Linked DNA regions of Homo sapiens: all the other regions are linked to region 1. The links are contacts of gene promoters, found by promoter capture Hi-C in human tissues and cell types (Jung and others, 2019). All regions are on one chromosome and are shown on one strand. Each heading gives the region's core, a stretch centred on a gene start or on the middle of the fragment in contact. The rest is flanking DNA. Distances are from core to core; before and after follow the strand shown. Region 1 holds the start of ASTN2 (astrotactin 2). Region 2 overlaps ASTN2 (astrotactin 2). Region 3 overlaps ASTN2 (astrotactin 2). Region 4 overlaps ASTN2 (astrotactin 2). Region 5 overlaps ASTN2 (astrotactin 2). Region 6 overlaps ASTN2 (astrotactin 2). Region 7 overlaps ASTN2 (astrotactin 2).

Region 1 (3,110 bases), core at 360-2,859:
ATAAGGCCCCGCGCCCCCAAGAGGGGAGGGGAGAGCGAGCAAGCAGCGAGCGCGGGAGAGCTAAGGGGAACAACATTTTTGTAAACGCTCTCCGAGATAATTAAGCTATCAATTACCCGGGTGGGAAATCAGCTGCGCTTCCCACAGCTCCACTGAAGGGCCGACTCCTCCGGGATTCGCGCAGGGAACCAGCAGGCAGCAAGCTGCTGGCGAACTTTTCTGATTAACTTTTCCGTTGGAGCCCCCCACCCACACCCATCTCCTCTCCTCTCCTTTTTCTTGCCTTTAAGTAATTATTATTAGCCCAGGGAGTGAGCTGCAAGGACAAACCGGCTCTCTGCCTGGAGGTGGGTAGAAAGGGAAGGCGGTAACGGGGGTAGAGGGAGGCTCTAAACGTGGAGACCTCGGAGTCGGAATCCCAGTTCTCAGCAACCACTCAAGTCTCTCCAGCCCTATTTCACAGATGGCCAGAACTGAGGCTCAGAGAAGGGAAGCGACTTGGCCAAGGTCACTCAGCCCATGCGGAAGCCACGCTTTTGCGGGTTGAGCGATTCCACACGGAACTACTCCATTCCTACTCTCATGAAAATCCATCTGGAAGGGCAGAACCCGCAACTCCGAGGCGAGAGCGAGGGGGCGGTGACGGCGGGTGGCCAGTGACGGTACCCGGAGAAGTGGGAGGCTCGACCTGAAACTGGCTTAGGATCTGGGATGCTCCGGCCCCTAGCCAGAGCACCTTCAGTGAATGGGGTCTCCGGCTTCCGGGATGGATCAAGCAGAGCTCCAGGTCGGGACTGAGAGGCAGAGGGGCAGGTTCCCACTGCGGGAGGGTTGGCACGCCCCCAGGCTCCCGCCGCGCGCTCTCCAGGACCTCCTCCCACATGCTCGTTTCCAACCACCTGTGCGACCTCTGGGCCCCTCCTCTACCCTCTGCCAACCCCACTCGGGGCAGCCCCGGGCAGGGATCCCCAGGGCGCCCCCACCCGTCCGGCATGACGCAGGGGCTCGGGGTTCCTTGGGATCTAGCGCGTGCCGGCGCCCAGCCTTACCCAGGGTGAAGAAGGGCAGCTCGGTGTTGTCCAGGTCGTCCTGCACCGCGATGCGCCCCGGCAGCTCGTTACGCACAAAGAGCAGGAGGCGCGACTCGGCGGCGGTGCCGGCAGAGCCAGGAGAGCCCGGGGACGCGGCGGCGGCGGCGGCTCCGGCCCCGGTCCCAGCCCCGGCCCCGGCGCGGGCGCCGCTCCAGCCGATGTCGCTCTCCCGCAGGGCGGGCAGTGTGGACACCGTGACGGTCTTCAGCCGGCACGGGCTGTCGGGCTCCCGCGAGGCAGCGGCGGTGGCGCCGGCCAGCAGCGGCGGCGGCGGCAGCAGGAGCAGGAACAGCAGCAGCAGCGGCAGCAGTGGCGGCGGCCCCGGGTGGAAGCAGAGCCTCGGCCGCCCCCGGAGCCCCGAGCCGGGGCCGGGGCTGAGCCGGGCGCCGGCGGCGGCCATGGCGGGAGGGGCTGCGGTGCTGCGGGCGGCGGCGGCGGTGGCGGCGGTGGCGAAGGAGGAAGAGGAGGCAGCTGCGGAGACGGCGGACGCCGAAGCGAACCAGGACGCCCGAGCTAAGGAGCGGAGAGAGCCGCTCGCCAGCAGCCCCCAGCTCCGGGCTCCGCCTCCCGATCGGCCCTGGACCGCCCCCCCGCGCCGCCTCCCGGGGCCCAGCCGCCCGTCCCCGATCTCCGGCTCCCCCCGCAGACCCCGAGCGTTTCGGAGGCTCCGCCCGGCCTCGTGCAAGTCCCAGTGGCTCCCTCCCCTTTCCCAAGATCCCCCAATTCCGCCCTCACAGCATTCTTTAGCCACAACACCCCTCCCTAAACTCCCCAAATTCCTAATACTTAGGGCCCCCTCGGGCCCCCCCAAGCCCCCCTGACTCAACCCAGTTCTCCTGGCTTCACCCCACCTTCGGCTCAACCCAGAGGCTGCACCTGGGGGCGCGCCTTGGCCCAGCCTTGCTCAAGGCCCCGCCTTCTTGGGGATAGGGAGCCCCCTGGATAGCCAAGACTTAACTTTGTCTCCCCTCAGGCCCAAGAACAAGTCCTTTCTCCAATCTCCTACCCTTTTCTAGTCTCTGAAATAACTTCCTGTAGCCTCAGAGCCCCCTTCCCACCCACTTGGCCACAACTCCTGCATTCATTCTCCCACTGCCCGCAAACCTTCCTCTCCCCTCCATCCAGGCCTTGTGCTAGCACTAATTGCTAATGGACAGAGGGGCGTCGAACTCCACCGTCTAACGCCGACCCCACAACTGACTGAAGCCGGGCTGTTCTGGCCCCCTAGCTGCCGCCCTGCAAGCCAGCCCACTCACGCTTTTTTATTTTGGATCCCTGCTCCCAGCTTGGAGCAGCTCTACTTGGCTGCTTCTGCTCTCTGTGTGAAATTCCTGAAAAGGGTGTGAGGTAGAGACCTACTATTCTGTCTGTCCTTGGCTCCCGGGTCTTTTAGATCCTCTGCCCAAGTCCCAGAGAACGGGAGTGCTCACCAATTCTTCACCTGCAGTCTTTCTAGACTCAAGTTGAGCTAGGTCCTCAGATTCAGCACCCTTTGGTCTTGGGCTGACTCTGTCTCTGACCCACATACCTGAGACCCTCCAGGGAGCGGACACCTCTGCATGGGTCAAGTGCCGTGCAGCCCCTTCCCCACTCCCCTACTTTTCTTCATCTTCCCTGTCTCTGTTTTCTGTTTCATCTCTCCATTCATTTCCTTCCTTCTCATCTTGACTTTAATCTTACAAATGCTTCTTTCCTATAATTTGTGAGCAACTTCTCATCTCTGTCTAGCTTACCCATCTGCACCTTTTGTGCTGTCTCTATGCATTCACTTTTCTCTTAGCTCTTCCCTCTTCTGTCTCATTCCCCTTTTCTATCTTTAACCCTTCATATAAATTGCTTTTCTCCTCTCTCATCATATATTTTTTAATAACGTTGGATAAAGGCAGAGCACTGAAAATAAGGAAAAAAGCAAAAGCTGTTTTGCGACCTTGGACTTAATGTGTTTAAAGCATTCTCCAAATGCTAGACATGTACGTATGTTAGCTTTTTTACATGACCATAATCCAAAAAGATGGATAT
Region 2 (3,373 bases), core at 508-3,007, 370 kb before region 1:
GCTGTCCAAATTAAATAGGATATATTTAATATCTCCTTCCCAGGGCAGCTATTTTGTTAAAGGTGGAAATTAGGTTGCCTTGAGCTTTCTTTCTTCAAACCAAACACTAATAACTTTATTTTGTTTCTCTAAAGTCATATTTTGAGTCCTTTTATTGTACTTTGTATAGATTTGTTTTGCTTAAGATTACTTTCTTAGTAAAGGATGCCATAATAATAATTGTTATTATTATTATCATCATCATCACTACCACTATCACTAGTAACATAGCCACTAACTTAGGTGCCAGACAATAGAACTAAATTTTTGCATGCAGTATCTCATCTAATCTTTACAGAAACTTCATGATATTGTTTCTACTATCACTCACATTTTTCGCTATGAGGAAACTGAGGCCATCACTTGCCAAAGAACATGCAGCTTAAAGGTAATAGGGCTGAAATGAAAAACCATTTGATGTCAGGGTCCAAGCTCTTAACCATCATCCTTCACAATATCTCTATCAACCTGCTAGATGTAGCCTGGGCAGAGCAGAAGCAACAAATTTAACTGCTGAGCTGCTATCCGACTTTAGCTTGCCCTGTGGACCTGTGATGACTCTAGGTGAATTTGTGGTGGCCTCATTGTCCCACCTGATACCGACCACATGTCTTCAAGAGAACCTCTCCCCATCACAAGGACAAAGTTTAAAATGATGGAAGAAAATGAGAAGGGCTGTCGCTCCTCCTTTCTCAGCCCCAGAAAATACTATGGGCCTGAAGCAGCTCACTGTGCTACTTGGAGCCAAATGATTATTGACAAAGCCACTGGGGAACACCTTTGGCTAGCTCTGGTCCTGGGACAAAGACCGTTTCTATAGTGCAGGCCTAGATTGTGGCTGCCTGGTGAAGTTAAAGCCACTGGCAGCTGACATGGAATGGGGCTACAAACGGCTGGCTATTTGAATTTCTCTGTGGCAACTGCAGGTAGCTGGGCTTGCAAGTGCAAAGGTCACTACAAGGTGTTGACAATGGTGTTAGAGATGAAGATGATAGAGATGGTACCGTATTATTTTAGCTTTTATTAGGTTACAGATTATTCTCAAATATCTCATTACCTCTTCAAAATCCTATGTAGTTGGCATTGCTGTTATCCCCAATAGACAAATGAGAAGTGACAGTCTTAAAGGTGAACTCATGTTCAAACAACAGAAGAATAATGGGCCTATAAGCCATGTCTCCTGACACACAGCTGAGTGATCTTTTCATGTCACTATGTTGCTAGTGTGCAGCCTAAGTCCCACTAGCTGGATATGAAAACAGAAATAGAATCTGTGCGCTCTGATTCTTCATCCATTGCTTTTTTTTTTTTTTTTTGAGACGGAGTCTTGCTCTGTTGCCCTGGCTGGAGTGGAGTGCAATGGTGCAATCTCAGCACACTGCAACCTCTACCTCCCAGGCTCAAGTGATTCTCCTCCCTCAGCCTCCTGAGTAGCTGGGATTATAGGCATGCGCCACTGTGCACAGTTAATTTTTATATTTTTAGTAGAGGCAGAGTTTCACCATGTTGCACAGGATGGTTATTGCTCTTATAAATGTATCCAAATGCCTCAAAGAGCTAGTGTAGTATTTCCCACAAAACCAGATGTATCTTGAAAAGAAAATATTTCTATGTTCACAAAATTTTGAGACATGCTATATTCTGCATGTCCCTCTTAAAGCACCCAAGTATATATCTGGTATTAAAATCCCTAAAAGTCTTTGCATTACATTCTGTTTAACAGGATTCAGCCGAATGTTTCCCTAAAGTATTAAGACATTGCAGAACCACCATTCTGTGGAACAAGGTACGGAAAAAACGATCTAGTTTAATAATTTATACAAAGGTTGTAAATAATATTAGCAGAGCCCAATAATCAACTGGTGCCCTTATGCCAGGCACTGTGTTAAAGATTGTATGTACATTATCCTATTTAAACTTCTCAACTACCTTGTAAGGCAGGGGTTACCCTTCATTTACAAATAGGAAAACCAGATTTAACTGGTCACTGGGAAGAGGAAGAGGAAGGTTTTCATGGTCAGTCTGGTCTGAAACCAATGTCTGTATCCTTCTTCTTCCCAAGTGTTAGAAGAAAATAGAATTTTAAAGTCACAGAGAATACATGCAAGAATGAAAAAGGTAGGCACAACAGATCAGTTCAGGAGGCTAAAGACTATTCAACGTATATTTAGCAGGCTGACGAAATGCATTAGTGGAAGGAAAAAGATGCTGTACTCAATAGATTAAATTGCAGTGTGTAGATGAGAAATAGTAGAGAAGATAATTCAAAGATCTAAAGCTCTAGAATGGCTCAGAAATAAATGAGAAAGAAGGAGAAAGGAAAGGTGGTGGGGGGTTTCTGATTCATAGGTGACTATCAATCGACTGGTGCTGACTTACCCAAAATGTTAATTTTTAAGATACTGTTGTCTGATACCCATATTAGCCCTGTTAGTCTACAGGCTGTTTAGATGCACCACCACATTCAGCCCACACCACCGATGAATTGGAGGGTGGCAAAGAAGAGCTAAGGCCAAGCAGTGAGTGCTGAGGAACAGAGCAAAAGAGCAGCCACAGTTTCCATGGCTACCAAGGACGATCAGGACCAGTCACCTCCCATTTCCATGAAAGGTTCATTTCTAGCTCCTTTGAAAGTCCCTGTTCCATTATCTTGGAAGATGTCAGTGGACTTTGGCCCACACTTTGTGAAAATAGGAGCAGGAGAATAACATTGATTGTGTATTTAGTATTTACTAGGCCTCCTGTGATGGCCTAGTAAATACTGAATACACAACCAACGTTATTCCCCTACTCCTGCTTCCTCCCCTGCTCCCAGCTTCCATGACAATGTTCCTTTACCTACAGAACTTCCTTTATCCCAAAAGCCCACCGTAAGCACCAGGCAAAGCTGTCCTTACTTGACATTGGGGGAAATGGAAGATCAAAGGGTTTAATTGACTAGTAAGGAACAGAGCTAGAATATGAACAGAGCTAGAATATGAACCGAGACCTATTGATACTCAAAGTTCTTTAAAAGCTTCCTCAGCTGATCCTGACCCTGTGAATGTATGGTGTCTAATGGTGGTCACACTGCTTCTAAAAATAGGGGGCATTTTCACATCTCTGTGCTCCCTCCTCCTCACCTCTTTTTCCTGACAGTGACACTGTGTCATATTCCTAAGAAACAATAGAAATGAGGCTTTTCCTGATGGCCCACAAACCCCCTACTGCAGTTAGATTTGCCTGTCTCTTTCCTTGTGACAGGTCATATGCATTCCCCTCCCCCATATGTTGTCCTTTCTACTTTTCCAACATATCTAAGCAGACCAACTTTCAAGATCAAAGAGAACTCCCA
Region 3 (3,328 bases), core at 652-3,151, 380 kb before region 1:
GTATTTCATTGCCACCTCCCCTATGGGGGTTCTGAATCTCAGCCCAATTTATATTTCCCCTCTTTCTGGGCTCTGGGATGAAGCTTGTTTCATTTTGGTGTTGAGGAGGGGTGTGTGAATTTGATTGGAGTTTATTTTTGGGGATGGGAGCAACATCCTTGGGGAGTGAAGTCAATCATAGAAGAAGAGGCAGCCTCAGACCTCCTGCACTGTCATTCTTTTTGATGTATCTTCTTAGGGCTTCTGGGTCCACCGTCGGTCCTCCCTTACTTCGTTTTTTACAGACACAATTTCTTATATGCCTACTGAGTCAGAATCCCTGTTAGGCATCACAATAAGTTAGAACATGAATAAGCTGTGGTCCTTGCCCTTGAAAAAATTTAAGTCTAACCATTGAATTAACTTTACAAAAAAATTCAGTGAAAGCCTTTTAGCGGGCATCAAGTATGTTTTGGATCCTGTCCAAGGTTCTGAACATAATGTGCAAAACAAATGTAATCTCTATCCTTATGGAACTTGAAACCTAGCAAGAGAGAACAACATTAACTAGATAAATTTAAAATTATACATTGAAATAAATATAATACAGAAAAAAAGCAGGGCTCAAGGAGAATGATTCATAAGGGAGCTAACAGAGGCATTACCCTAGGGTAAATGAGAGAAACTAGAGATGTGGGAAGAAGTTTTCAGGCAAAGAAAACACCATGTGCAAAGGGCCTGAGGCAGGAGGCAACAGAGAAATTTAAGAGCCAATATATGGAGAGGTGGTGTGACGTAAGACTGGAAAGGCGGGCAGGGGCCTGACCTTGCAAGGATGCAAAGGCCACAATAAGAAGTTCAGTCTTCAAAACAAGTAAAAAAGAAGACAATAAACAGATTTATGGAAAGTATGACACGTATGTAATACATGTATGCGATGTTTTGATATTTTCATTGTAAAAGATGGCTCTGTTTGCATTGTTAATAAAAGATAGGAGAGAGCCTAGACTTAAAGCAGGAGGCCAGTTTTCAGGACTGTGGCAGTTGTCTCAATGACACATATGTAACAGTAACAGTAACAGTAATAGGAGTTAGACTGAAGTCATTAGAAAGGCACAAATATAATTCTAGGTAATGTTCATGAGAGGTGATATTATTTGTCTCTAAGGATTCATTGAAGAAGGTTTTCTAGAGGAGGGAGCAAACTAAGTTATGCCTTAGAGATGGGTGAGACTGCCATATATGGAAATATATGATGGAGAGGAATGTACAAGCAAAGGTATATAGAGAGGCAGATACCAGGTAGGACAGTCTATTTGTCTAAACAGCATCAAGGCTGTGCAAATGAGTTAACAAAGAAAAAGACAGAAGCCATATTGTACAGAACTTCCACCCATAAGCATGTTCCACAGTATTCAAAGATCTGCAGTCAACATGGAGCATTTTAAAACAAAGCCTGGGATGATTTCATAGAGCAGGATGTCCAAGGAACTACTCGTTTTAAATAAAGTGCTTGGCAGTTTGTGGCTAAGGATCCACTTACAATGTGGTGTCATTTTCCCTTCTAAGAATTGAAAATACTCCTTCCATGTATTCAAATCACTGCAAACTAGTTCTGAAGCCAATTATGGACCTCTTTCCTCTCTAACAGCACAAAGTCATGCATTAGCTCACTCTTCTGGGATGGAGGACATCAAGTAGGGATGAGAGCAAATAAATGTAGACAAGTGTTATTATTCACAATTTTATGCTCAAAACCAGCTACATGTGTGGCATATTAGTGAACCATGCCATCCCAATGTGTGGGCATTTATACTTGATGATTTCATGGGCTAAGAAGCCATACTCAGATCCCAAATATCTCAGTCATAGGGAACAGAGAAGACTTGGATATCAACTTAGTTCAACCTAAAAGATGATGTTAACCATTTAAAATAACCTGAATAAAAAGACATTTTAGCATAGGTATTTTGATGCAACAATCATATCAATATATAAAATTGTGTGTGTCTGTGAGTTTAGCTAAGTAACATATTCAAGAGACACAGACATCCCTTGTTTTCACCCATTTCTGAGCCTACGCAAAGAATTGGTGACACTCTGTGTGAAGTACTAAGGAATAAAGAAACATATTCTAAAAGTCCTAAAAAATTAAGTGGTTTTAAAATTTACAGTTTGATAATATGGCTCCAAAACAAAATATCATGATTCAAACCAAACGCTTCTCTTCCCCTCTCTTCTACAGCTTTGTAAAAATGTGGTCATCTATTCTCAGGAGATTTTCTATGATGGGGAACTCATTACCCTGCAATGACCCCCTTCCAATATTAAGAAAATATTATTACTACTTCTAACATTTATATAATTTATTGAACCATTACTAGGTCTTAGGTATTGAGCTAAAAGCTTTATGAGCATTATTTCACTTATTCTTAGCAATAACTTTATAAGTACTGCTATTATCCCCAATTTATAGATAATGTAACTGAAGCTTAAAATGTTTAAGTAACTAGCACAAGTCACACAGTCAACAGTAGAGGAAGACGTTTCCAAACCAAGGCTTCATCTTCTCCCATCCCTGACCATACTCATTACCCATATATCTGTCTAGTTTTGCTTCCTTAGGACTTCCAGAACTAGCCTGCTCTCTTCAAAATAAATAATAATTATCCTGGTCTCCTCTCTGGAAGCTTAGAGCATAGAAGAACCTTAGACTGGGGGCTCAGGTAGGCTTAAGTTTTCATACCACGTCATCTATGTGTTAATCTCGTAAAACCACCTAGCATCCCTGAGCCCCACTTTTCACGTACGCAAAATGAGGATACTAAATCCAGACTCTCAATTTTGCTATGAGAACTGAAGGAAGAACCCTGTGTAAAGTGCTTTGTGTGCTACTCAATAGATAACAGACATGCTCAATAATAGTAGGTTCCCTTCCTGTCTAGGTTCCTTCAACGCTTGTTATTGAATGAATGTCTTCCATCCTTTCCTTAAGAGGTCATTAGGTATCTACAGTGCTTTTTCAATCTTGTGGCTGCCAAATCCTCTCACTTGAATAACTTCCAATGTATAACAAGTCTTGGAACAAAACAGGGAATTCTAGGTGGACTGTTACCTGCCTACACTGGAGTGGAACCATCTCACCTACTTCACCTAGATAGCTTGTTCCTTTAAAAGCAGACTCTTCTATTGGCTGACCACATTGGGTGAATATATGCCCACTTACATTGGGAACCTCAGTAGATGCATAAACTAGCATCTCAGCTAAGATAGGTGTTTAATATTAACCAATAACTATTTCTCAATGAGGCTAACTGCATGGCAATTTTGATGAGGTCCAAACCTGTGT
Region 4 (3,098 bases), core at 125-2,624, 320 kb before region 1:
ACAACATTTGATCTTTGTCCCAAAATGTGTCATCAGGCAAGGTCTGTCCCGGAGCCTTAGTGCACACTTCCCCAATCCCCAGCAACTAAAAGCAGGGCCTGGAGACATCAGGAGACTTCAGATTTCAGATTCTGCCAGATGCAGTTCTCCATTTAAAGGCTTAGCTTTGAAGTGGAATTGGCAGGGACCTCATGGAGATTTTGGAAGTGACTGGAGAGCAGAGGTCCCCAGAAGCCAGTAGGGCTTTTAAAATTGCCATTAAAATATTTTACTGTTAAAAAAAAAAAAAAGAAGAAGAAAGAACAAAGAAAAGAAGGGAGAAGGGCTGGGCATGATGGCTCACACCTGTAATCCCAGCACTTTGGGAGGCCAAGGCGGGCAGATTGCCTGAGTTCAGGAGTTCGAGACCAGCCTGGGCAACACGGTGAAACCCCGTCTCTACTAAAATACAAAAAATTAGCCGGGTGTGGCAGCATGTACGTGTAATCCCAGCTACTTGGAGGCTGAGGCAGGAGAATTGCTTGAACCCAGGAGGTGGAGGTTGCAGTGAGCCGAGATCAAGCCACTACACTCCAGCCTGGGTGACAGAGCGAGACTCCGTCTCCAAAAAAAAAAAAAAAAGGAGGGAGGAAGACTTTTGTTCATCTATACATAATTCTTGGCCAAAGAAAAAATGAAGGCATCTGATAAAGTCATTCTCTTATGTTCAGAAAACATCTGCCATACTCTCTGCTATGTCTGGAGCCACAGAGCAAAAAGGAGGGTCTATCCCTGTTAGGAGGCCACCCAAGACTCTTCCCACAGCCCCTTGGATGCCATAGCCACACTTTGAAACATTTCAGCAAAATTCTCACTCCCTTCCTTCCTTCCAATCTCCACTTTATCTTCCCTCCCATCCTAAACACATGACCTGTTATGGCCCTACCATGGTGAACAAATCTGGCTTACAGGAATCAGACTTTATTCTTTCCCTACTGGAGCAAGATAGACAGAGTGACAGAAAAGTCACCAGGAAATTCTAATGTAAGAAAAGCGAACACTTGCATAGTGCAGTATCTCTTCCAGGCACTATTCTAAAGCCTTTACATGGGTTGACTCATTTCATATTTACAAGAACCCTAGGAGATAGGTTACTACATTTATTCCCATTTCAGTTGGTGAGAAAATGAAGGCACGTAGAAATTAAATATTTTGTCCAGGGTCACAGCTTGTAAGTAGCAGAACCACGATTCAAATTCAGACAGTGGCGGGTAAATCTATTCCTTTTTTACAATGCTGGTTTATAATAAAATATGAACAAATACTTTGTTTAATATCCACAGCCATCCCTATAAGGACTGTATCATGAGTTTTGGTTTCATAGATGAATAACTGTCTCAGAGAGGTGATACGAGGTAGTAAGTGGGAGAAATGGGATTGAAATTTGGTCTGTCTACCTGCAAAGCTTGCTTCGTACCTAATACAACCAGGGAAAGTGTGTGTGTCTGTGCCTATGTGTGCACACACACATGCATGCATATGGATGTAGAGGGCTGGCAAATGCTTGATATGTTGACCACTAAGGATTAGCAGTTCTCTTAATTGACTCCAACACCTGGACCTGTTTTCTTGTAGGAACTCTAATCAGGCTTAGCAAGATCTTTGTGACTCTCCCATCTTTCCACATGTCCAGGCACAGTGACCACACCCCTATAACTACCATAAGGGTTTCCATAAAGGCTTTCCCTTCTGGTCAAGCCTCCATTTCCAAACTCTTCTGACCTTTATTCCCTTCTTGTAAGTACTAAAGTACCATGTGTTCAGAGTGAAAACTGAGGCTCAGAAACAATGTCTATAAACCAGATTCAATAGAAATATAATGCAAACCACATATGCCATTTTAAATGTTTCAGTAGCCCCATTAAAAGGGTAAACATAAAAGTTCAAATGAATTTCCAGAATATGTTGCATTTCACTCAGTATATTAAAATATTATCATGTTAACATGAAATTAACATAAAGTTATTACCGAAGTATTTTATATATTTTTCATAAGTCTTCAAAACCCAGTATGCATTTTGTGCTTACAGCACATCACAATACAGACAAGCCACATTTCAGGTGCTCACCATATTGGAGAACACAGTTCTAGACATATTTGTACAACAAATATTACTGAGCAAATTAAGGGCAAGGATCTGAGTACAAGATGAAGATGAATAAGCCACGACCTCCACTAAAATGTTCAATCTTAAAAAACAATTTGGATTTTTGACCTGGATGAAAAAATGGCACAGCTGGGATTCTGTTAAACAACAGTATCTATGGTCCCTACTCTCAAGGCACTTGGAGTCTAGTTAGTTTCTATATTTGTTTATCCATGAGCCAAGGGAAGTAATGGACTTCAGTAGAAATAAATTAAGTTATTGGAGTCAGACATGAGTTCTAGTTCTTTGATTCACTTATTAGCATATGGCCTTGGACAGGGCATTTGATCTCTCTGATCTCATCTTTAAAAGGGGTACAAGAACTCAGCTCAATGGTTATTATTGGGAAAAGAGTATGCTGCATGTAAACATTCTGCACAAAGACCAAGAAGTGAGAGTCAGGGCACATTCCTCAATTACTTGATGCTTGTCTGTGTTTAACAGAATGAAAGGGAGGAAGTGCTGCTGGTTTGAGGTGCCCCCTGACTCTCCTGCCTGCTGTGACATCCTGGGGAGGTGGCAGCCACCCAAGGCATACAGCCTCTGAGTATCCATATAATCTGAAGGGGCCACAGGCCAATTACAGTCTGACTTGGAGGTGATTCAGATGGCTAGAAAAGGGCCCCCTCTGTTAGCATTTTAATATAAAATTGGTGATTTAGTGCAATAAAATGCAGCCATTAGTTACACAGGGCTGCTCCCGTACTTCCATTTAGGGGCTGAGAGAAAGTGAGAATGGTTAGAGACTGGCAAGAAAAAAGAAGAGGTAATCTATCTGCTGGAACCAGCAGCCTTTCTATCCTTGCTGCTTGGGCCCTTGGTTCTTCTGGTACCACAGAGCCTGAGGTGGAGCCATTAAGAAGGTGAGCTAAACACATGCCACGGTGTGATAAGTACTGCCCCAGGTACCTT
Region 5 (2,968 bases), core at 377-2,876, 290 kb before region 1:
TACATCAAACCAGCATTTTTCCATCATGGAATTACATTAAAGGTTAGTTGTTTTTTTCTTTTAAGTTAAATTGCACAAAAGTTTACAACAAAATCATAAAACCCAGTTTACACAGATGGCATATTCTTAATAATAATTAGGTCAGAAAATGAATATGAATCCCACCAGAGTAATTAGGATATTCAGTAAAGGACCCTTTTTGTTGCTGCCTTATTTCTGTCAAGTTTCAGTCTAAGCTCTGAGGCCTATGTATGTGCAGACATCCCACACAGGTAATGTGAATGCAAGTCTTGGAGGTATGTGCTGCTAACAGACACAGCTACAATGTAGCAGAAGGTACAGGAGAACTGGAAGCAGTCAGGTCTAAATTTACCTCCAAGCTCCTGGCTGTGCAAGTTTGGGCAACTTACTTCATGTCTCTGAACATCCATTTCTTTTACAAAGTAAGGGTTAGAGAAAGGTTGTTACAGTAATACATGTGAAACTCATTACTCTTAAAAGAGTAAAGAGCACAAAAGAAATGGCCAATAATTGTGGTTTCCTATCAGATATATGTCCCAAATTAGAAAGTAGAATAAACAAAACCATGACACTAGCTTTGAGATTCATTCCTCCTATAGTTTCATCTTTGTTGGAGGAATTAAAGAGAGTATTTCCAGCCAAGGCAAAGGAGTAGGAAGCCTAACTGGTTTCACTGCAGACTTGGTGGACAACTAGAATGGTTAGCACCAAAGTAATTTACTCCAGTGAACGTTTAATAATCTGTAATTATTATACTTGAATGCTTGAGTGAGTGATTGATTGACTGTCTGCTTCTTTCTCCAAATCTTGAGTTACATAGAAGTGAGGACCTCATATGTCTAGATTTCCATTGCAGTCTCAGGGCTGAGCATAGTGTCTTACACTGAGTAGACATTCAGCTGAAAGAATAATGAAAGTGAGGTTGGAGACCCTGGGTAGGTAGTTAAGCTTAGACAGAAGGAATAGGCAGGGCTAGAATTGGGGAAATGGGAATTAGTCACAGCAGCCCTAAAGAGCAGTTTGGAAAGGTATCATCCTACGGCAGGATAATTGCTCTGACTTGGACTTGTATAGCTCTGCTGGGACCACAGATGCTGATCTAAGAATGAGGCCAAAGAGTCTATCAGAGATCTTAGCCATCCTGGGTTGCTGTAGTTATTGGTATAATTACCTACTCTTGAATTCTCTAGATCTTGTGGAGTTATTTCTATGTAGTTCTGCCTGAACGCAAGATGATTTCTTTGGGACCCTTCTCCATGTTACAATCTGTGAAGGTTGCTCCGCAACACTGCACTGAAAGGGAGCTCACCAGCGTTTCTCGGCTAACACCCTCGGCAGGTAGCAAGGCTGATACAGATACAGGAAGGGGTCAGGTGTTACAGCTGCTCCCTGCAAATCTTTATAACTAGATCACACATAGGTAATTTGGAGAAGGCTCTTTCTCTCTACGGAAAATACCCTGACAAAAGCTTTATTTCCATGGTTTTGTAATGGCCCAATGGGTTCATCTTGTCCATTGCCTAGAAAAGCTAATGCACTGAGAACAGCAGATTTTTACAATAGAGAGTTTAATTATTGCACAGCCAGCTAAATGGAAGACTGGGGTTTCATTACTCAAATTACAGTCTCCCTGTGATTTCAGAAGTTAGGGTTTTTTTTTTGTTTTGGTTTTTTTTTTTTTTTTTTTTTTTTTTGAGACAGAGTCTCACTCTGTTGCCCAGGCTGGAGTGCAGTGGCACGATCTTGGCTCACTGCAAGCTCCACCTCCCGGGTTCACGCCATTCTCCTGCTTCAGCCTCCCCAGTATCTGGGACTACACGTGCCCGCCACCACGCCCACCTAATTTTTTGTATTTTTAGTAGAGATGGGGTTTCACTGTTTTAGCCAGGATGGTCTCCATCTCCTGACCTCGTGATCCACCCGCCTCGGCCTCCCAAAGTGCTGGGATTACAGGCGTGAGCCACCGCTCCCGGCCGGGTTTTTTAAAGATAGTTTGGTGAACAGGGAGTTAGGGAATAAGAAACACGGATTGGTTTGGTCAGGGAAGAAATCATAGGGAGTGAAAGCTGTCTTCTTGCACTGAGTCAGTTCCTGGGTGGGGGCTACAAGACCAGATAAGCCAGTTTACTGGTCTGTGTGGCAACAGTTAGTCCATCAGAAATCAGGGTCTGACATTCTGGCCAACATGGTGAAACCCTGTCTCTACTAAAAGTACAAAAAATAGCTGGGCATGCTGGTGTGTGCCTGTAGTCCCAGCTACTCAGGAGGCTGAGGCAGGAGAATTGCTTGAACCCGGGAGGTGGAGGTTGCAGTGGGCCAGATCCCATCACTGCACTCCAGCCTGGTGACAGAGTGAGACACTGTCTCAAAAAAAAAAAAAAAAAAAAAAAAAAAAAGAAATCAAGGTCTTAAAAATACTTCAAACACTAATCTTAGGTTTTATGACAGCGATGTTATCTATAAGGGCAATTGGGGAGGTTAGGAATCTTGTGGCCTCTGACTGCATGACACCAGAGCCATAATTTCTAATCTTGTGGCTAATGTGTTAATTTTACAAAGGAGGTCTGATCCCCAGGCAAGGAGTGGGTTTGTATCAGAAAGGGGTTGATGCCATCTTTGTTTCAAAGTTAAACTATAAACTAAACTCCTCCATAGTTAGCTTGGCCTATGCCTAGGGTTGAACAAGGGCAGCATATTAGTCCATTTTCAGACTGCTGATAAAGACATACCTGAGACTGGGCAATTTACAAAAGAAAGAGGTTTAATTGAACTTACAGTTCCAGTTGGTGTAGAAGCCTCACAATCATGGCGGAAGGCAAGGAGGAGCAAGTCCCATCTTACATGGATGGCAGCAGGCAAAGAGAGAATGAGGAAGATGCAAAAGCGGAAACCCCTGATAAAACTATCAGATCTCATGAGACTTATTCGCTCCCATGAGAACAGTATG
Region 6 (2,908 bases), core at 337-2,836, 460 kb before region 1:
CTCCTGGTGCCCATGCCCCATACCTATGGAAGACACAGAAACAATGTGGTCAAGACAGAGATGGGAACTGAGATAAGACAGAAAGAGATAGAGAGAACTAGGCCATATGTGATGGCTCACGCCTGTAGCCCCAGCACTTTGGGAGGCTGAGGTGGGTGGATCACCTGAGGTCTGGAGTTTGAGACCACCCTGACCAACATGGAGAAACCCTGTCTCTACTAAAAATACAAAATTAGCTTGGCATGGTGGCGCACGCCTGTAATCCCAGCTACTTGGGAGGCTGAGGCAGGAGAACAGCTTGAACCTGGGAGGCAGAGGTTGCAGTGAGCCAAGATCACGCCACTGCACTCCAGCCTGGGCAACAAGAGTGAAACTCTGTCTCAAAAAAAAAAAAAAAAAAAAAAAAAAAAAAGATCTGTGGTTGTAGATACTGCCATGTATGAGCCCATCTCTCACACAGCATCATCACCAATCATGTGGAACAGTTGGTTCCCATTTATAGTTAAGTCAGTTAGGTTTGGTTTTGGCATAGACTGTGAATAGAGTCTACAAAGATAAAGGAGAGGGAAGGTATGATCAGTAGAACAAGGTCCTTCAATAAACTGAAGTGCATGAGATCAGGGTCAGGCAGAGAGATTTCCCTTAGATAGGAAGCAAGCCACACTCTAGAGATGAGTAGGAGAGGGTGGTATTGGTATTTGGTGGCAGAAGCTATGGGAGGCACCATGGTTAAGATCAGTAGGGGATCTGTAAGCATGCAATCACCAGCAAGTTATCTATGATCTCACTTTTCTCTCTTCCACTCAAGGTAACATTCCCCAAACACAAGTGGGAGATGTTATTTTACTTCTAAGGTCATATCCATTGCATTTTAAAAAATCCCTCCAAAAGACAAAATATTTTGAAACTTGAGTAATTAGACTATTATTAGCACTACATTTCTGACAACTTACCTAACCCCATAGTTTCAAATACTAAAAATCAGAGTAACTTGAGTAATGTGACTATTTTTGTTGTTACATTTCTTGGGACTTACCCAATAACTCATGTGGTCAAAGCCTGTGGGTTGTGCCACTATAGCTGAGAGCAACTGTATTGACTAAAATCACAATAATATGTAAGCTTTTCCATTACTTGATTATAACTGCATTACTGTATTTGTAACTGCCTTTTAGTTTATTCTTAATGCTAGTGAGCACTTGACATGATTTGAGAGTTGCAGAAAATAGCCCAACCACCACCACGACTTTATGAATAGTAATGCATGGGGTATGTCTGACTACTTACTCTAGACCTACCATAGACATGACTAATCAATTCTGGCATTCATTCCTATTGGGCTCGCATGCAGCCACAGAATCCTTCTCGGCCTTATGCTCCAGAGAGTATAAGGCTGGCCTCAAAGATGCAATGCATTTGCTATTGTTGATTGGCTTAGAAGCTCTTGGGGTTCATTCCTGTTCATTTCCTGGTGAAGAAGAAATGGCCTCCAGGATCTGGCAAGAATAAGGGCCCTGGAGCAGCCTTGAGCATCTGGCTCTCAATTTCCGCATTCTTTCTCTCCCTTTAAGAAGAGGTGAGATGTGATGAGAGGCACAGGCTGTGAGGCCTCAGGCTTTTATCTCTGGCAATGACATGGGCAGCGTGACATGCAGGGTAATGAATTGCCGTCTTTGCAGAAATGAATAAGTTGTGGTCAGTGATGAAATGATCAATTTGCTCCATCATGTTAAGCTGCCCATTCATCATCCACACCTGCTGTCAGGAGCCCAGGGCCGCTGATATTGGCCTCAAGCCTCTTCCTCAGCTAGCCGAGCAATCGCCGTTGGAGCTGCCTCCAAGCTCAAGGCTGCCTTTGATTACAGCCTTTGAGGAGGGGCCCAATTACTTACTGCTCAGCCACCGGTGACTCTGAAAACAAGGGACATTTGTGCTGACCTGGGCTGTTGACATGTAGCCTAACAAAATGTGAAAGACCCTCTGACAGGGATCCAGGTGGCCCGTCTTATTGTCCCACAGTGCGACCTTGGGCCAGGCCATGTCATTTCTGTTCCTTAGCTTCTCTATTATAAAAGGAAGGGGTGGAGGAGACTCCCAGTTCTCCATCTCCGACCCAATAGATCTGCAAATGTCTGCTATGGAAAGGACAGTTTGTGATTTTAACTCCCCCACCCACTGAGGCAAATAACAGCATTTATTAGCTGAGATTGTTTGGCAGCAGTGAATCATTCTTTGGCTTAACTGAAAATAAGGTGTAATTATCACATTTTACTGATAAGGAAACTGAGGCCTAACAAGGTTAAGTGGGGTGCCCAAAGCCACAAAGAGAGGTTGTGTTATAGTTACAATTGAATCTGTATCTGTTTGACTTCTAAACCCTTGCTTTTCCCACTGCAAATTGTTTTGGCTAGAGAGCAGGCTATTAAGACATTCTAGCCAAGCCAATTTCCTGAGAGTTCTGCAGGTACCAGGTGTTGCTGGAGCCCAGCATCTGCTCAGAGGAAGGCAGAGAGACCCAGAGGAACCCAGAATGAGACACTCATTTTTGCATCCTCAGTTTCCAAGTTAATTTTCTAGCTCCTGGTTAGGACCCGAATTACAGAGACCAGGCAGCTGTCCAACAAGAATGCTGACAGGTTTCATTGTCCTCTAGGGTAGCTGCTGCCTAAAGAATATTTGATTTTTTGTTTTTTTAACAACAACAAAAAAGATGGGTTCCCTGTATTGAGCATCTCCTGAGTGCAAAGCCCTGCACTATGTGCTCAACACTTGATCCTTGATGGTTTAAAGCCTCAACAGTGTGATCAGGTTAGTTGCTCACATTCTTGGATAGAAAAACTGAAACTTAGAGCAGATAAGAGACTTGTCCAAGGTCATTTAGCTCATTAGTGGCAGAGCTGTAGCTCAA
Region 7 (3,041 bases), core at 7-2,506, 500 kb before region 1:
AACTGTGAGTGTGGAGAAACCACTTTCTGTCTCAAACTTTTGGCTTCTTGCAACTGTACCATGCAACCCATAATATCTCTTTCCTAGGCTTAGAGTCAGATTCCAACTGGCAAGTGAGAAAAGCAAAGCAGTTGGCACCCAGTAGGTGCTCAGAAAACACAAGGTCCGCCTTCTTCATTCTCAGTGCTAAGAAAGTGGGAGCTCACCCAGCCTCTCTCTTTCTGACAAGAACTTCTCATGTTTAATTTATAGGCTGGTTTAGGTAGTTGAATTTTAAATAATTCATAGCCTTGCTGTTAATATTTGTAGTTGTTGAATTCCTTTAATAAAACATTTAGGGATTTCTTCCCCCTGAAGTGTATTTCATCCGGAGAATGATTTGTTTTCTGAAATCTGGGACTCGGCTGCCCTTTCGTTATTTTCTTTTCTGCATCTAATCCTGTTTATTGCTGTGGCAGAGGTAAGAGATGCAAGCTTGGGTTTTGCTTTGCATGGGTATGCAGGCAGGGATGTCAATTCATCTGTGGCTGGGGCTCGTGAGGTGGGTTCACTCTAAGTGGGGGTACCATGGCGGTTAAGAACATCAACTTCATACTGTATTAGGTTTGAACTCAGGCCTGCACTTCCTTCTTCCTTGCTGTGAGATCTCATCCAGGTAATTATTATTATTATTTTGAGATGGAGTCTCACTCTGTCGCCCAGGCTGGAGTGCAGTGGTGTGATCTCGGCTCGGCTCACGGCAACCTCTGCCTCCTGGGTTTAAGTGATTCTCCTGCCTCAGCCTCCCAGGTAGCTGGGACTCCTGGCATGTGCCACGACACATGGCTAATTTTTGCATCTTTAGTAGAAACAGAGTTTCGCCATATTGGGCAGGCTGGTTTTGAACTCCTGACCTCAAGTGATCCACCCACTTCAGCCTCCCAAACTGCTGGAACTACAGGCATGAGCAACCACACCTGGCCTTATCCAGGTAACTTAACATTTCTGAGCCTTTGGTTTCTCATATGCAAAATAAGAATGAGAACACACTCCTTTTACTTTCCCTGACATACCTCTGGATTTCAAAATTCTGCTTATATCCATGGAGGCTGCTTTTTCTAATCTCTCTCAGCCTCAACCCCCACTTAGTGCATTTGATGTGGCAAATAGACTCCCTTATTAATTCTGTTTTCTCATCACCTTGGCTTGAGCCATTTCCACAAGAACTCCAGGCTCTTTCCTGATTCCCATGAAACCCCGCTGGCTTTGTCATTTCTTAGTACCCCTGGGTTTGAGGGAAGGGGAAGGATGATTTGGGCATGCTGCAGCCTTTTCTAAAAGGAGGCTCCAGCTCCCTCTTGAAGATGCAGAAGGATCTGAAATGCAAGGCAAGCTTCACAGGTGCCAACTGTATTGTTCAAAGAATATACTCCCTTTTATAGCACTTATATTTCATTCTCTACTGCCAGAATGGAGACACATGCTGGGTTTCTGCATTCGTAATTGGGGAAGAACAGATGGGAGAGACGCAGTTGGAAGTAATACTGTCATTAAAGTAATCTATACTGCTCCTAACTCTCAGGCATGTGTGAGAAGGTGAGTGGAGCCACATGGACCAAGTTCCTTTCTGTTCAGTCCTCATGGAAATTATGGGGTGGCACATGACTTTGGAAGAATCAGAAAATTCACATTCACTTATGGTATTCCTCTGTGAGTATGTTTCTAGCTCCAGAGCCTCAAAGACAAGAAAAGGAACAGATTGATGATAGTTTCCTTAGGTAAGGAGTGGAGTAGGCATTCTAGATAGAGAGAACAGCATATGCAGAGGTGTGGAGCCTGGAAATAGGAAATGTTTTAAGTAATAGTAAGTAGAGAAGCTGAGCTGGTCTTGTTAGGGAAGCAGCAGAGGATATGGCTAGAAGAACTCGTGCTATGGGGACGAGGTTCTTGAATACCAGGAAAGAAGCTGAAGGAGAGTTGCTGTGGCATGGCAGAGCAAAGGCTGCAATCAGGTTCAGTGCAGGCTGTTACTGACTAGCTATGTGAACATGAGAAAGACACTTCTCTTTTCTGGGCCCCAGTGCTTCATCTGCAAAATGGGAATAGAATAAATGGTCTAAATAGAACTTCAGTGGCTTGAAGGACAACAGCTCTGAACTTCAGGAGAATGCATCTAATTCCTGAGTCTTTTGGTCATGTAAGTCAATTCTAAGCTGAGCATATCCCAGTCCTTGTTGACTGAGTAATAATAATAATAACAGCATTTGTAAAATAATAGAGTGACCCTTTGCTGAGGTCCTACTCTGTGCCAGACACTGTAAAGTGTTTTATTATTATTATTATTATTATTATTTATATATATTTTTTTTTACAATCTCAATCTCAGTCTTCATGAGGTGGTCCTGAGAAGCCCACTGTACAGATCTTCACATCTGAGGCTCAGATAGGGAAGAGGATAGGAATTTATGCCACCCAACCCTGGGTGGCAGGACCAAGAATTATGCCAGATGTCACTGGCAGCTGCCACAGCAGTAATGGCACCTCCTAAGGCAGAGCACTCTGGAGAGGTTTAATGTTCGCTGGCTAATTTAATCCCTCCCACTGCACCTCAAAGTGGATCCTGGGATCCCCATTTTGTAGATGAGCTAACTAAGGCTCTGTGAGAAGCAATCACCAGCTCAAAGTCATAAAACCAGTAAAGGCTGAAGCTGAGCTCTGGCCTCAGGTCTGCCTGGTATTCAACCTCCAGATGCTGCCTTAGGATACTTCAGCCTTCAAATTCACACAGGAGGAGCCCAGGATTAGTGGGCAGCTCCACAGCCCCTTCTCCCAAAATGTGAGATGTTCTTTGCAAACTTTTCTTAGGGATGCCTCATTTTGACAGAACACACTGCCCTCTCTTGCCCTGGGGAGCAGTCCCCATTAAGATATGTCAATGCCATTGAATACAAAGCAAATATCTGGGCTGATATCTTAACATGTCTGTAGCAGTGACTCTAGACTCCCTAAAAGACCAAAAAGTTCTCATGGCCATGGTCATGGACAAACTTCTTGGGAAGAGG

The links. Contacts are between HindIII fragments. The study calls those that stand out against the background at their distance.
Region 2: a fragment that was not itself captured here is called in contact with the fragment with the promoter of ASTN2 in region 1 in 1 of the 25 tissues and cell types used here (dorsolateral prefrontal cortex).
Region 3: a contact is called between a fragment that was not itself captured here and the fragment with the promoter of ASTN2 in region 1, in 1 of the 25 tissues and cell types used here (thymus).
Region 4: a contact is called between a fragment that was not itself captured here and the fragment with the promoter of ASTN2 in region 1, in 4 of the 25 tissues and cell types used here (H1 embryonic stem cells, dorsolateral prefrontal cortex, hippocampus and 1 more).
Region 5: a fragment that was not itself captured here is called in contact with the fragment with the promoter of ASTN2 in region 1 in 6 of the 25 tissues and cell types used here (H1 embryonic stem cells, bladder, dorsolateral prefrontal cortex and 3 more).
Region 6: a fragment that was not itself captured here is called in contact with the fragment with the promoter of ASTN2 in region 1 in 5 of the 25 tissues and cell types used here (dorsolateral prefrontal cortex, liver, mesendoderm cells and 2 more).
Region 7: a contact is called between a fragment that was not itself captured here and the fragment with the promoter of ASTN2 in region 1, in 2 of the 25 tissues and cell types used here (H1 embryonic stem cells and dorsolateral prefrontal cortex).

The regions. Positions count from the first base shown.
Region 1 is chr9:117,413,448-117,416,557 of GRCh38, forward strand. ASTN2 (astrotactin 2) reads right to left here and starts at 1,610. Exons shown (of 23, transcript NM_001365068.1): 1 at 1,050-1,610. The coding sequence starts at 1,491. The HindIII fragment of the contact is 9,596 bases long and covers 1-3,110 here.
Region 2 is chr9:117,047,626-117,050,998 of GRCh38, forward strand. The region is part of intron 5 of ASTN2 (astrotactin 2); the gene reads right to left. Among named protein-coding and RNA genes, the nearest start is that of SNORA70C, 130 kb to the right of the region's middle. The HindIII fragment of the contact is 3,251 bases long and covers 133-3,373 here.
Region 3 is chr9:117,031,027-117,034,354 of GRCh38, forward strand. All of the region lies in intron 6 of ASTN2 (astrotactin 2), which reads right to left. Among named protein-coding and RNA genes, the nearest start is that of SNORA70C, 150 kb to the right of the region's middle. The HindIII fragment of the contact is 4,155 bases long and covers 1-3,328 here.
Region 4 is chr9:117,098,503-117,101,600 of GRCh38, forward strand. The region is part of intron 4 of ASTN2 (astrotactin 2); the gene reads right to left. Among named protein-coding and RNA genes, the nearest start is that of SNORA70C, 81 kb to the right of the region's middle. The HindIII fragment of the contact is 4,992 bases long and covers 1-3,098 here.
Region 5 is chr9:117,125,984-117,128,951 of GRCh38, forward strand. The region is part of intron 4 of ASTN2 (astrotactin 2); the gene reads right to left. Among named protein-coding and RNA genes, the nearest start is that of SNORA70C, 54 kb to the right of the region's middle. The HindIII fragment of the contact is 3,091 bases long and covers 82-2,968 here.
Region 6 is chr9:116,950,956-116,953,863 of GRCh38, forward strand. All of the region lies in intron 10 of ASTN2 (astrotactin 2), which reads right to left. Among named protein-coding and RNA genes, the nearest start is that of SNORA70C, 230 kb to the right of the region's middle. The HindIII fragment of the contact is 6,986 bases long and covers 1-2,908 here.
Region 7 is chr9:116,912,242-116,915,282 of GRCh38, forward strand. All of the region lies in intron 10 of ASTN2 (astrotactin 2), which reads right to left. Among named protein-coding and RNA genes, the nearest start is that of TRIM32, 230 kb to the left of the region's middle. The HindIII fragment of the contact is 6,421 bases long and covers 1-3,041 here.